Linked DNA regions of Homo sapiens: all the other regions are linked to region 4. The links are contacts of gene promoters, found by promoter capture Hi-C in human tissues and cell types (Jung and others, 2019). All regions are on one chromosome and are shown on one strand. The core of a region is centred on a gene start or on the middle of the fragment in contact, and the rest is flanking DNA. Distances in the headings are between cores, read along the strand shown. Region 1 overlaps NAV2-AS5 (NAV2 antisense RNA 5). Region 2 has its middle 8.5 kb from the start of MIR4486. Region 3 has its middle 20 kb from the start of NAV2-AS4. Region 4 holds the start of E2F8 (E2F transcription factor 8).

Region 1 (2,868 bases), core at 326-2,825, 260 kb before region 4:
ATACAAGGAACAACAGCAAGAGTGAACCTAATGTAAACTATGGACTTTGAGTGATTATGATGTGCCAGTGTAGGTTAATCAATTATAACAAATGTGCTACTTTGGTGACAGATATCGATAATGGAGGAGGCTGTGTATGTGTGGGGGGCAAGGGGTATATAGGAAATCTCTGTTAACTTCTGCTCCATTTTACTGTAAATCCAAAATTGCTCTAAAAAGAGGTCTATTCAAAAAGGCATTATATAACTCAATTTAATCAATTTAATCAAGACCATGTTTACACAGTACTTTGTGTCCACACATCATGATCATAAGACCAAAATCATGTTGGAAACTGAAGAAAGAAAATTACCTGACAGTCTTCCAATCCAGAGGCGAAGTCCAGGTCCCATCTCCTGGAATTCTGATAGGTTCCATGCCTACTTCAACTAACACAATGTGGACACTGCCAGTTTCCAGAGCCAGGACTTATGAAGCTGGCAGTTTGTATTCTCCGCTATTTGAAATACTGTCTCTGGGAGCAATGGACTTCAAACTCTGAAGCCACCATGCTAATGTGGCTGCATGTAGGTGTTCTAGCCAATAGTTACAACTCATATGTAAGTTGCTTTGCTGGAGGGATGGCTTGAAAGCCTGCCTGAATTTCTGACCCACAAAGTTATATCATAATAAAATGATGTTATCTTAAACTACTAAATTTTGGGGTGATTTGTTATGCAGTAAGAGATAACTGAAACAACCTTTGCCCCATCCAACAAATGGGAAAACAGAGGTATAACGAGGTAAATGACTTGCCTAGATAGCTGGGCAACAAGTGAGGCTGGACTCCAAGACTTCTTATTCTTAGCCCCATTTTTCTGCTTCATCTTAATTGCACTATGAAAACCTATAGCTGTCATCAGCAAAGCGTACCTGCCTTTAATTTTAACTAAGGTAACATTATCTGGCACTTCTGTAGCCTGGTGTCAGTAGAGTTCTTTGGCTCTATTCTAAGTGCTTTATGTCGATTTACTTATTTAATCCTCAGAACAAGCCTATGAGGTAAGTGCAATTATAATCTCTAAATTATAAATAGGGAAACTGAGGCACAGAATGATTAAGTAATTTGCCAAAGGTCATATAGTTGGAGGGGAGCAGAGCAGGGATTTGAACCCAGATATTTTTGTTCCTGAGACCATGTGCTTAACTACTGAGGCATATTCTCAATAAAAAAACCTAGAGTATCTTAGATCTCTTCCATTTATTAGATAGATCTCTTCTAATAGAGATGATCTGAATTCATGGCCACTATGTGTGGCTCAGTGCCTCGTATGGCTTCCACCATGAGTAATTTCTAAAAGGTCTCAAGACGCTTTTAGGAGACTTGAGACCCATCGACTGTTCACTTACAATGCGGAGCAAAGCTAAAAAGGATATAACTGCTTTATATCCAGTTGGGTGCAGCATCTTTTTGTCTGCCTGAAACTCCAACAGAGAAGCCAGGGCCACCCAACGAATGCCACAATTAATTTCCCAGAGCGCAATATTGCCTGTGGAAAGAAGAGACGCCGGCTCATTTCTTATTCATGAAGTCACACTGCCAAGCTTCATTTGCATGAAGTAATTTCTGCTGCTGCTACCCTACCATAAAATAAATCCATTTCTCCTACAGTATCTAGTATCTTTACACTAAGAGAAATGAGTAAGCAATATGTGCTATAAGAACACACCCTTTGGACCATTTTAATCAGAAACATGTCTGTAGCTAGCAATAAGTGATTTTATAAGAATATAAAATGTTTTGGGCTCAACATACTCAAAGGCGACTCTGCCTCAAGATCTGTTTTTGGGAATGTGTTTAGCATTTCTTCCTGCTTGGCCAAACACTGAGGTTTTACAACCAGTGGAGTTGTGGAATTATAGCTACTGTACCATCAACCAGAAAGAAAAAGAAGAAGAAAGGTAGGCAGGTCGGTAGCCAACAGAATCCTAATTAGATGAGGTACTGGAAATGTAGATGACTCCATGTATATAGAGAGAATAGTGGTCCTGCAAAGATAACCACACCCTAGTTGCTGGAATCTGTGAATATATTACACGCAAAAGGGACTGTGCAAATGTAATTAAAATTAAGGACCTTGAGATGGGGGAGAATATTGTGTATTATCCAGGTGAGCATAATCTATTCATGCGAATCCATAAAAGTGGAGAAACTTTCCCCACTGTAGACAGTCAGAGAGAGATGTGATTACAGATGAATGTTCAGAGAGAGGCAAGGTTGCTGACTTTGAAGATGGAAGGAGGAGCCATGAACAAAGGAATGTGGGCACCCCCTAGGAGCTGGAAATGTCAAGGAAACAGATTTTGCCCCCAGAGCACCCAGAAAGAAACACAGCCCTTCCGATGCCTTGATTTTAGCCCAGTGAGACGCTGTCAGACTTCTAACCTATGAAAGTGTAAAATAACAAGTTTGTGTTGATTTAAGCCACTATGTTTGTAGTAATTTATTACAGCAGCCATTGAAAATTAGTATACTTTGTATCAAAAGATCTTTGCCACTCACTAGCTGTGTGACCCAGCCTGAGCAACCTTACCCATCAGAACTAGCATTCCTCAGGGAATCAGAGCAAATTAGATAAAGCATCTGAAAGTTTTATAAGTCTTAAAGTGCATTGCAGAGATAAGATTTTAATATCATTAGTATTGTTATTCCAGTCAATTATACTCTGTTCAAGGGATAGCCCACGAGGGATGGCTGGAATTTTCTAGTTCATAATGCTTAAAAGTAATTTAAGCAACTAATACTATCTTCCTCCTGACCAAATATTTTTCAGATGTGATAAAAGTAAATTTAAAAAAAGACAAGAGGTGCTTAATCATTTCTTCAGG
Region 2 (2,700 bases), core at 141-2,640, 330 kb before region 4:
TTCTCTGACTTGCTCATTCATGTTTCATCCATTCAACATTTACCGAGCACCTACTGTGAGCCAGGCGCTGCATCAGCTGCAGGATCACAGCTGTGAACAAGCACCTGCCCTCAGAGAGTGCACAGCCAGGGGGAGACAGAATATGAAATATGAAGTTACACTATAGTGTGATCGGTGTTAGGATGCGAGGGTACACAGAGCCCCTGACTGGGCATGAGGCAGGGTGTATGCAGCCTGGGGAGAAGGTCAGTGATGGGAGACCCCTCGGAAGGAGGAACTTTAACCTGAGCATGACTGTGAGTAGGTTCCTGGAGGATTTTCTTTTTGAAAGAGAGGGTAAAGTGAGGAAATGAGTTCCAGATTGCAGAATAGCCTATGGAAAGACCTAAAGACAAGGAAGAATGTGGTCTATCAGAGGGACTGAATTAAGCTCCAGGGCTGGAGGTTAAAGGGCCATAGTGAGATGTCTGAGGGCCAAGGCTGGGGACAAAGGGGGGCCTGGCTCACCAAGAGTCTTAGAGCTACAGTGCAATGGTTAAGCTCACAAACCAGGGAGGCAGAAAGCCTAGAATTAATGCCCTGTTCAGCCACTTACTAGTTGTGTGACCTGGGGCAAATCACTCAACCTCTCTGGACAGTGCTGATGGGAAAAGAGAGAAGGGAATAAATGTGAGAACATTACAGAAATAAATCTGCAAGATGACTTCAGGGAACCATATACATTGGTCCAAAACATTGCATGGAAAGCCTCAGTTTTGCTCTCTAGTGGGTCGGTTGTCCCCTGGGATCACCACTTAGGATGCAAACTACACTTCCCTTCCACAGCCCTGGCCTCCAATCCTCACCCAGTGTGGATCACTGGCCAGCCTTTCTTTCTTTGGCTGCAAGAAGTCCACAGTCAAAAGTGAAAAGAACCAGTTGCACCCGGTCATCCTGTCCCCGGCAATAGCTGGATGTTCAAGAGAGGAGAAAAAGAAGTATCTGTGAAGCTGTCAGCAGGGAAATTCTGGAACATGGTGGAGACAGAAATATTTACTTTGCAGGGATAAATATTACAGAAACAGCCCTCCATCATCCAGTCTCTGGTCTAATGTAGATTTCTCGTTCCAGAAAGGTATCCTTATTGCCTGCAAAAGTGACAGCTGCAGAAAGTGTAGACCTTTTTCATAAAACAAATAAATGCAAACAAATAAACATAATATATGGAAGATTCTTTCTCACAGGCAATGGTGAAAATACATGGATTTGAGTTAGGCCTTTGTGGGTGTGTCTTTCAGATCCTTGGTGACCATGGGCCAGTTATCATGCCCCTCTAGACCTTAGTTTCCCTGGATGCTGGACAGAGCATATGTAAGTATCTTCACAACATGGCTGTGAGGATGGAGTGTGCCCAGGATAATGTCTGGTGTTTCATAAATATGGATTCTCTGTCTCATACTCATCTTCCTCTCTATAGCATGAACTTCCTACATAACCGGCAGTTCTGGAATATCTGAATCCACAAGCAGCTCCAACCAGCTGCCTGAGCTCCCTGTCTCAGGCACAGGGGTGGCTGCCAAAATGACACAAAGAATCTCAGTAACTGAGCCAAATGGCGTTTGCAAAACTCCTCAAGTTTATGGATCACCTTGAAGTTAAAGGTGGAATTTAGTCATGGTCTCCTTTTGACTCAGAGAGATCTTTACAAACTGGAGATCATTTGCTTGTCTGTAACAACTGCACATTAAAATGACCACCTTGGGCTGGGAGTGGTGGCTCATGCCTGTAATCCCAGCACTTTGGGAGGCCGAGGTGGGTGAATTGCTTGAGACCAGGAGTTTGAGACTAGCCTGGGCAACATGGTGAAACCCTGTTCTTACCAACAGCAACAACAAAAAAAATTAGCCAGGTGTGTTGGCGTGCACCTGTAGTCCCAGCTACTCAGAAGGCTTAAAGGTGGGAGGATTGCTTGAGCCCCAGAGGTTGAGGCTGCAGTGAGCTGTGATGGTGCCACTGCACTCCAGCTTGGGTGACAGAGCGAAGCCCTGTTTCACAAAAAAATAAAATAAAATAAAATAAAATAAAATAAAATAAAATAAAATAAAATCTCCTTGGATAGCTCTTCATGCTGCAGCCCAGTGTCCTGCGGTCTATCCATAGGTTGCTGACATTACAATTCACCAGTGCAAATGAGAGCAAGCCCAGAGCTCCAGAGGAGAAACACGAAGTCGCAAGTTCTTTTCCTCCAGCTGCCATTGGATGCCAGGCCACATCGAGCATTTCGTCTTTAGATGGCGAGACAGCCAGGAGGAAAATTGAAATGTCTGCACAGTGTTGTGTACATTGCATGACAGTGTCTTTGAAAAGCACATCTCATTGGGTGCACACATGTTTGCACACAGACATGGTTTATTTTAATGGTGTATTCAAAGCAGGGAGTGGGCTGTAGTAGTCATTTTACTGGCATTAATTTCTGTGGAAAAAAAAGGCGGGCTGTCAATTTATCACCATAGGAAAATCAATGAAATTTGAGCTTATTCCAGATACCTATGAAAGGGGTGGTTAAGGGAGAGATCAGTGATGCATGTAGCCCTTCCTCAGATGTCCTGACTCCTGGGTTCCTGGGAGCAGAGCCTAGCAAAGAACTGGTGTTTTCAAGACTGCTAATTACAAGCAAATCTCAAATTCAGAATGTGATCAAGCCACTACCGAAGCTCTCAC
Region 3 (2,857 bases), core at 278-2,777, 300 kb before region 4:
AGTCTCTAAACCAAAGAGGCTTGGAGGAAAAAAGACAGAGAGCACACATGTCATGAATAATTCAGTTGGCTGCCCGGCCCAAACCAAGCTCCCCTGGAGGCAGTATGGAGACACAAATCTGCCCACCTTATGAAGCTTACAGCAGTTGCCAGTTAGGTCTGGGTAGCAGCTTGACCCTCCTGTGAGCGCCCAATAATAAATGCCCACACTGGCGTGGAGGGCTGTGGTGTGCAGCAGGTACACAAGAAATGAATGAGAACTGCAAGGCCAGAACGACTTCATGGGAGGGAAAGGGTCTTTGATTAAGGCAACTGCTCAACTCCAATGTACATTTGCTTTGCTGTCTCTGGGGCTGAAAGCAGGGTAGAGAGGTGGAGAGTGGGACATTTACTTTGGCCCAACCATCTGCTAGGTGTTCCACATGTGTGGAGCCAAGACACAGACACCCTAGCAACATTTTGGTGAGGCAGGTACTACGATTCTCATTCCTTTGCTTTACTCTCTCTCAAGGAAATTAGGCTGACAGACAGTTTGGAAGATTTGCCAGCAATCTTAACAGCTAGGAAGTGGCAGGGGCAGGCTCACCTCCAGCCCTAGCTGGCTCCAAAGCTGGGGCTCGTTCTTTTATGTCCCTAATTCCCTTCTTACTTTCCATGCTTTCTGTGCACTGTGTCTAGCAGGATAAGGTGGCCAGGTAAGCAGCCAGGGGGTGAGGAACTGGGAAGAGGCTGCACAGTACACCCTGTTTCTTCCAGAGGATGAATTCTGTACCCCACTCCAAGCTGTCAACATAGACAGGTGTTCAAGGGTGGAATGTGGCCCAGCTAATCCCTGCCTGACTTTAATTTCCCATGTGTGGAATATGGACTCCAGGGAGGCAGAATCCAGGAGGCAGAAGCTCAGGCCTTGATGCCTACTCAGATCTCTAGATGCCAAACTCTACTAACTGGGGTACTGACCAGTAAGCCTTGGGGATGTGAGATCTGAACCTGATCTTTATGGTGGCCTCAGTCTACACTGTCACCCTTGAAACCTGTGTCTGTCTTACAGCACGGATCCCATTCTGCTGGTATTGGAAAGACTGATAGTGAAAAGAACTCGAGATTAGAGTCAAGAGAGTCTAGGACCAAAGTCCATCTCGTTCTCATTCTCCTTCAATCACTCGGTTTTGATGGAAATCAACTCTGCCAACATAATTGCTATTTCAAAGAAATATTCATTCATACACTCAATAATTTTTTAGCAATCCAAGATGTATTGAGCACTTACTATGTGCCAGGCACAGTATTGAGAACCACAAACCCATAAGATGCTCAATAATATTATTTGAATGAATACAGTGCAAATCATGTTGTAGTAAGTATATATTCACAAGCTTTGGCCAGGAAGAGCAAAATAAGTAGTTTACATTTGAACAATACTTTTCACAAGGCTACAGAGTACACTCACATTCATTGTAATAATTGATGGATTATCCTCAGCTCAAACCGAGAGCATGGCCACTCTAGAAATACTTGGGGAGCTATAAGAGGAAGAGGAGGAGGTGACAAATAGTATTTGATGCAGTTGAGAGGTCAGCCTCAGAGTTAGCCAAGTGAGACAAGAGAGGACAAGGAAGAGAAAGAGAAGTAACTTTTGAACACCTGCTATGAGTATCTCATTTAACGCTGAATGATCCTATGAAGGGAGGTAGGTATTTTCACTCCTTTTTTATAGACAAAGGAAGGCAAGCTCATAGAGGGTAGCTATCTTGGATAAAGTTACACAGTCAAAAATGGCAAAATATCTGACTCCAAATTGAACGTTTTTTAATCCCTATGCCATTCTGAACCTTTCCCAAAAGAGGAAGATGAGGAGGAGAGGCTGTGTCAGTGAGATAAGGTGAGATTTGGTGCGATAAAAGAAAAAGAATAGATACAGGACCACGCAAACAAACACAAAAAGCCCAGTGACATTTCACTGATGATAGCAATGATTACTGTTACGTTGGTTGACAGCATGCATCATCGGCAGTTCAAGCCCTAGTTCCTGGAACTTCATAGATATATTTTGAAAGGACTTTCAGCAGGAAGCCCAAACTTCCAAAAGAGGAAGACTGACTACCATACCAGGCAGTCATTTTTATCTCTACTTTATAGACAAGGAAACTGAGCTTCTACGAGGTTAATCAATTTGCTTTAAGTCACCCATATCGGAAATGGCAGAGCAGGGATTTGAACCCAGGGCTTTCTGACCTTCAAATTTATATTGCTTTTTATGGCCCTATCTTAAAGATGACCAAGGATGGGTGAAGGAACTCTTAGAATCTCAGAATTTGGAAAAGATAATAAACTTTCTCTAATCAGGCAGTTCTCACACTTAGGTGATTGGACCCATGCTCAACCAGTGACATGGAAACCTTATTAAAGGGAAACGGGCTTCATCCCTGATCAGGGAACCTGCCTTCTCCTCTGTGGTCCTGGTGGCAGGAGAGGTACCCAGGAAGGGGAGGGTTTCAGGTGAAGGGGAGAGCAAGGTGGTGCTCACAGTCTGAGTCAGGCGGACCTCCTGGCTCTTGCCTTCTAGCTCAAGACCTTTGACAAACTTCCATGTTTCCTGAATCTCAGTTTTCTCACCTGTAGAATATTTTATAGGCAGCACTTAGAGATATTAATTGAGTATGTGTTTAGGGTCAAAATGACCTGGATTAGAGTAACAGCTCTGCTTATGACCTTCGATGAATTAAAACCTCTGGACATTTGGGGTCCTCATCTCTAAAATGAGCATAATAAAATCTACTTCATGACTTGTTACAATGAAGTGAGACAGTATATATGGAACCCCTCAGTATAGAACCTGACCCCTAGTAAATACTCCA
Region 4 (2,700 bases), core at 25-2,524:
GGTGGGAGACCCTGAGGAAAGACGGCGAGGACAGGGTTGGAGGGTTTTCCGCCTTCCTCCTCTTCCTCCTACACCTGAGTTCTCACCGCTGGGCCAAGGCCCAGAGCCCACGGAGCTTAGGCACCAGTAGCCAAGCTTCTCCCTCCTCGCGCCAGTTTCTGCGAGGCACGGGGCAGACGGTGGGCAGCACAATCATGCATGCCAGGGGTGCAAGGGGGAGAGGTCCGGCTGGAGTCCGAGGGCAGGTGAGCCGGCCTGGGGCTGGGCAGGGGTGAGATAGCCCCAAGCGGGGAATCGCAGGGCGCCTGCGGCCCAGCCCGCGAGCCCCGGACGGGCCAAATTTTATTCCCCAACTTTGAGCAAGGGGAGGGGGTGTATGCAAAAAAAAAAAAAAAGGAAAAAAAAGTTGCTGAACTTTTCCCCCAACTCTGCCGTAGAGGCGGGAGTGGAGGGCGGTGCCTGCACCGATTCGCCGGCGGCTACGGTCGGGAGGCTCGGATTGGCGCTCGGGGGCCGGGGCCGGGGCGAGCGGGCGTGGGGGAGGGGAGCGGCCCTCCCCGCCCGCGGTATCGGCTCGCGCCGGGAGCGGGTTAATTTCAAATCGGGGGCTTGGCTGCTCCTGGACGGTCACGCTCCCTCTGCCCGCCAGCCGGCCCGCCAGTCCCGGTCCCGGCGTCTCTCTCCGGCACCCACCTCGGCGCTGCGGAAAGACTGACTGCCAGGTACGCGGGCTCCCGGGCCTGAGAGGGGCAGCGGTGCTGACGAGTCCCGGCTCAGCCCCCGCCGGCTCCCGCCGTGAGGTGGACTGACAGGTCAGCGGGACGCAGAGGGGCGCGGCGCCCGGGCGACACGGCACCGGGAGAGGGCTCGGGAGGGTGGCGGCGGCGGCGGCGGCGGCCGTTTCCCGCCTCCCGCTTCGCCGGGGGCCGTGAGGGAGGAGCTGAGCTCCCGCGCAGAGGGGCGGGGGCGAACGAGGGGGAGGGGCGGGGTTGCCGTGGTTCCGGGCGCGGGTTTGCCCGCGCTCAGGCCCCGCGCAGCTAAGGGGAGGCGCCGGCCACGGTCCGACTTTCCGCGCCAAATTTTTAAATCGAAGGCGGAAGGTCCGGCCCCGCCCCTGGCGCCGTCGGCCAATCGCAGGCCCGCTTCCGGCCCTCTGATTGGTCGGGAATTGTTGTCCTGGAAACCACGATGATGCTGTCCGGGAACTGTCGGGACTGCGGCGGGCGGACAGGGCCTGGGGGAGGGGCCTTTGGCCGAAAGTTGGGGGAAGTGCACTGAGCGAGTGGCGGCCGGGGGACAGTACCTGCTTGCCTTATTGGGCAAATACAGCCTTCCAAGGTGGAGTCTAACGCCGTGGTGTGAACTGGCCACCCGAACAGGGAGTAAATAGTGCTTTGTATCTTTAAGGAAGCCCTTTTTTAAATTTAAAAAAAAAGTCTTAATTATAAGACTCTTTAAATGCCCAACTGCATACTTGGAGCTTTGGGACTGAATTTGGAACTTTCCTGTCAAGCGACCTCCCACGACTTTACTGCTGAGCCTGTGCACGTGTGTGTAAGGGGAGAAATCCAGGCATCTAGATGCAGACTTGTACCCAGTTACTTGGGGTCGCGTGCGCTCAGCTGGGACCTGGGCTCGTGCGCTTAGTCCGGAGCCCTGATCTGCGAACAGGTGGGTGCTTCCTAAAGTATTCGCTGGGGTCCGGAGAATGGCTCGCCTTTTCTACAGATGGGAGAGGGCTGTCACTAGAAATTCCGTGGGTTGCTTGAAGTCTTAGGACCGCCGATCCGTTTGCTGAAGGAATTTACTGGCATTTGTTGGCGTTCTCCGCTCAGTGGGGCGATCTCTGGTCGAGAATAAAATGTAAATCTAGTTTGTCATTTTTCGTTAGGCTTTGTTTCCGTAGCCTCTTGTCCGTGAAGGAATTTTCAACAGATCTTTTGGTTCTTGTTTTTCTCTAACTTTTTCTATTTCCTTTTTTCTTTAAGGATATTAAAACTTTTAGTACAATTGATTGGACTACTTGAACCATCGGGATTTGGGGAGGAACTCCAGATTTTTCATTTTTAAACTCTAAATGTATGAGGAATTTACAGAATGGAGAACGAAAAGGTACTTTATAACTTCAGTATTCATCATTGCAATTTTAAATTCAGTATCATCCTGATTTAACTCCATAATTTTTCCCTATCCAATGTGTTTTCTTAATGCCACAACCTTGGTTAGCCTCTGTAAAGACCTGGAAAAAATGAACCTTATCTTATAGTTTCAAAAATATATAGTTTAAAATATATACTAATTTAATTAATATAGTTTAAAAAATGAAAATTATCTTAAAAAGAAATTCAGTCTCCAATCATGTCAAATGCCCTTTCTGAATTCCAGTTGTTCAAGAATCCTCAGAAATGTTGTAATGAAACTAACAAATTTTATTATTCTTAAAAATACCTTTTCTCTCTTTATGTCTGAGACAGCTACCAAATCATTAAAAACTAGAAAGAGTGTAAAGGGGCAAACCTACCCCTCTTCAAAAATTCGTTAGTTTCATTACAACATTTCTGAGGATTCTTGAACAACTTGGAATTCAGAAAGGGCATTTGACATGTTTGGAGACTGAATTTCTTTTTAAGATAATTTTTTACCAAATTGGCAGCTTATTTATGGGGTCTGCAAAATGCTCTGTTTAGGGGGCAAACATTT

What was found. The method cuts DNA at HindIII sites, captures the fragments that hold promoters and counts their contacts. A contact is called where the count stands out against the background at its distance.
Region 1: a fragment that was not itself captured here is called in contact with the fragment with the promoter of E2F8 in region 4 in 2 of the 25 tissues and cell types used here (dorsolateral prefrontal cortex and lymphoblastoid cells).
Region 2: a contact is called between a fragment that was not itself captured here and the fragment with the promoter of E2F8 in region 4, in 3 of the 25 tissues and cell types used here (adrenal gland, bladder and spleen).
Region 3: a contact is called between a fragment that was not itself captured here and the fragment with the promoter of E2F8 in region 4, in 1 of the 25 tissues and cell types used here (mesenchymal stem cells).

The regions. Positions count from the first base shown.
Region 1 is chr11:19,500,493-19,503,360 of GRCh38, reverse strand. NAV2-AS5 (NAV2 antisense RNA 5) reads left to right here. Exons shown (of 3, transcript NR_049725.1): 3 at 1-689. It also overlaps a transcript of NAV2 not described here. Among named protein-coding and RNA genes, the nearest start is that of NAV2-AS5, 5.3 kb to the left of the region's middle. The HindIII fragment of the contact is 5,944 bases long and covers 1-2,868 here.
Region 2 is chr11:19,565,418-19,568,117 of GRCh38, reverse strand. It overlaps a transcript of NAV2 not described here. Among named protein-coding and RNA genes, the nearest start is that of MIR4486, 8.5 kb to the left of the region's middle. The HindIII fragment of the contact is 7,337 bases long and covers 1-2,700 here.
Region 3 is chr11:19,542,514-19,545,370 of GRCh38, reverse strand. It overlaps a transcript of NAV2 not described here. Among named protein-coding and RNA genes, the nearest start is that of NAV2-AS4, 20 kb to the right of the region's middle. The HindIII fragment of the contact is 3,031 bases long and covers 12-2,857 here.
Region 4 is chr11:19,239,519-19,242,218 of GRCh38, reverse strand. E2F8 (E2F transcription factor 8) reads left to right here and starts at 1,274. Exons shown (of 13, transcript NM_024680.4): 1 at 1,274-1,671; 2 at 1,989-2,112. The coding sequence starts at 2,098. The region is part of intron 1 of CSRP3-AS1 (CSRP3 and E2F8 antisense RNA 1); the gene reads right to left. RefSeq lists enhancers at 1-69, 275-384 and a silencer at 505-1,204. The HindIII fragment of the contact is 7,308 bases long and covers 1-2,700 here.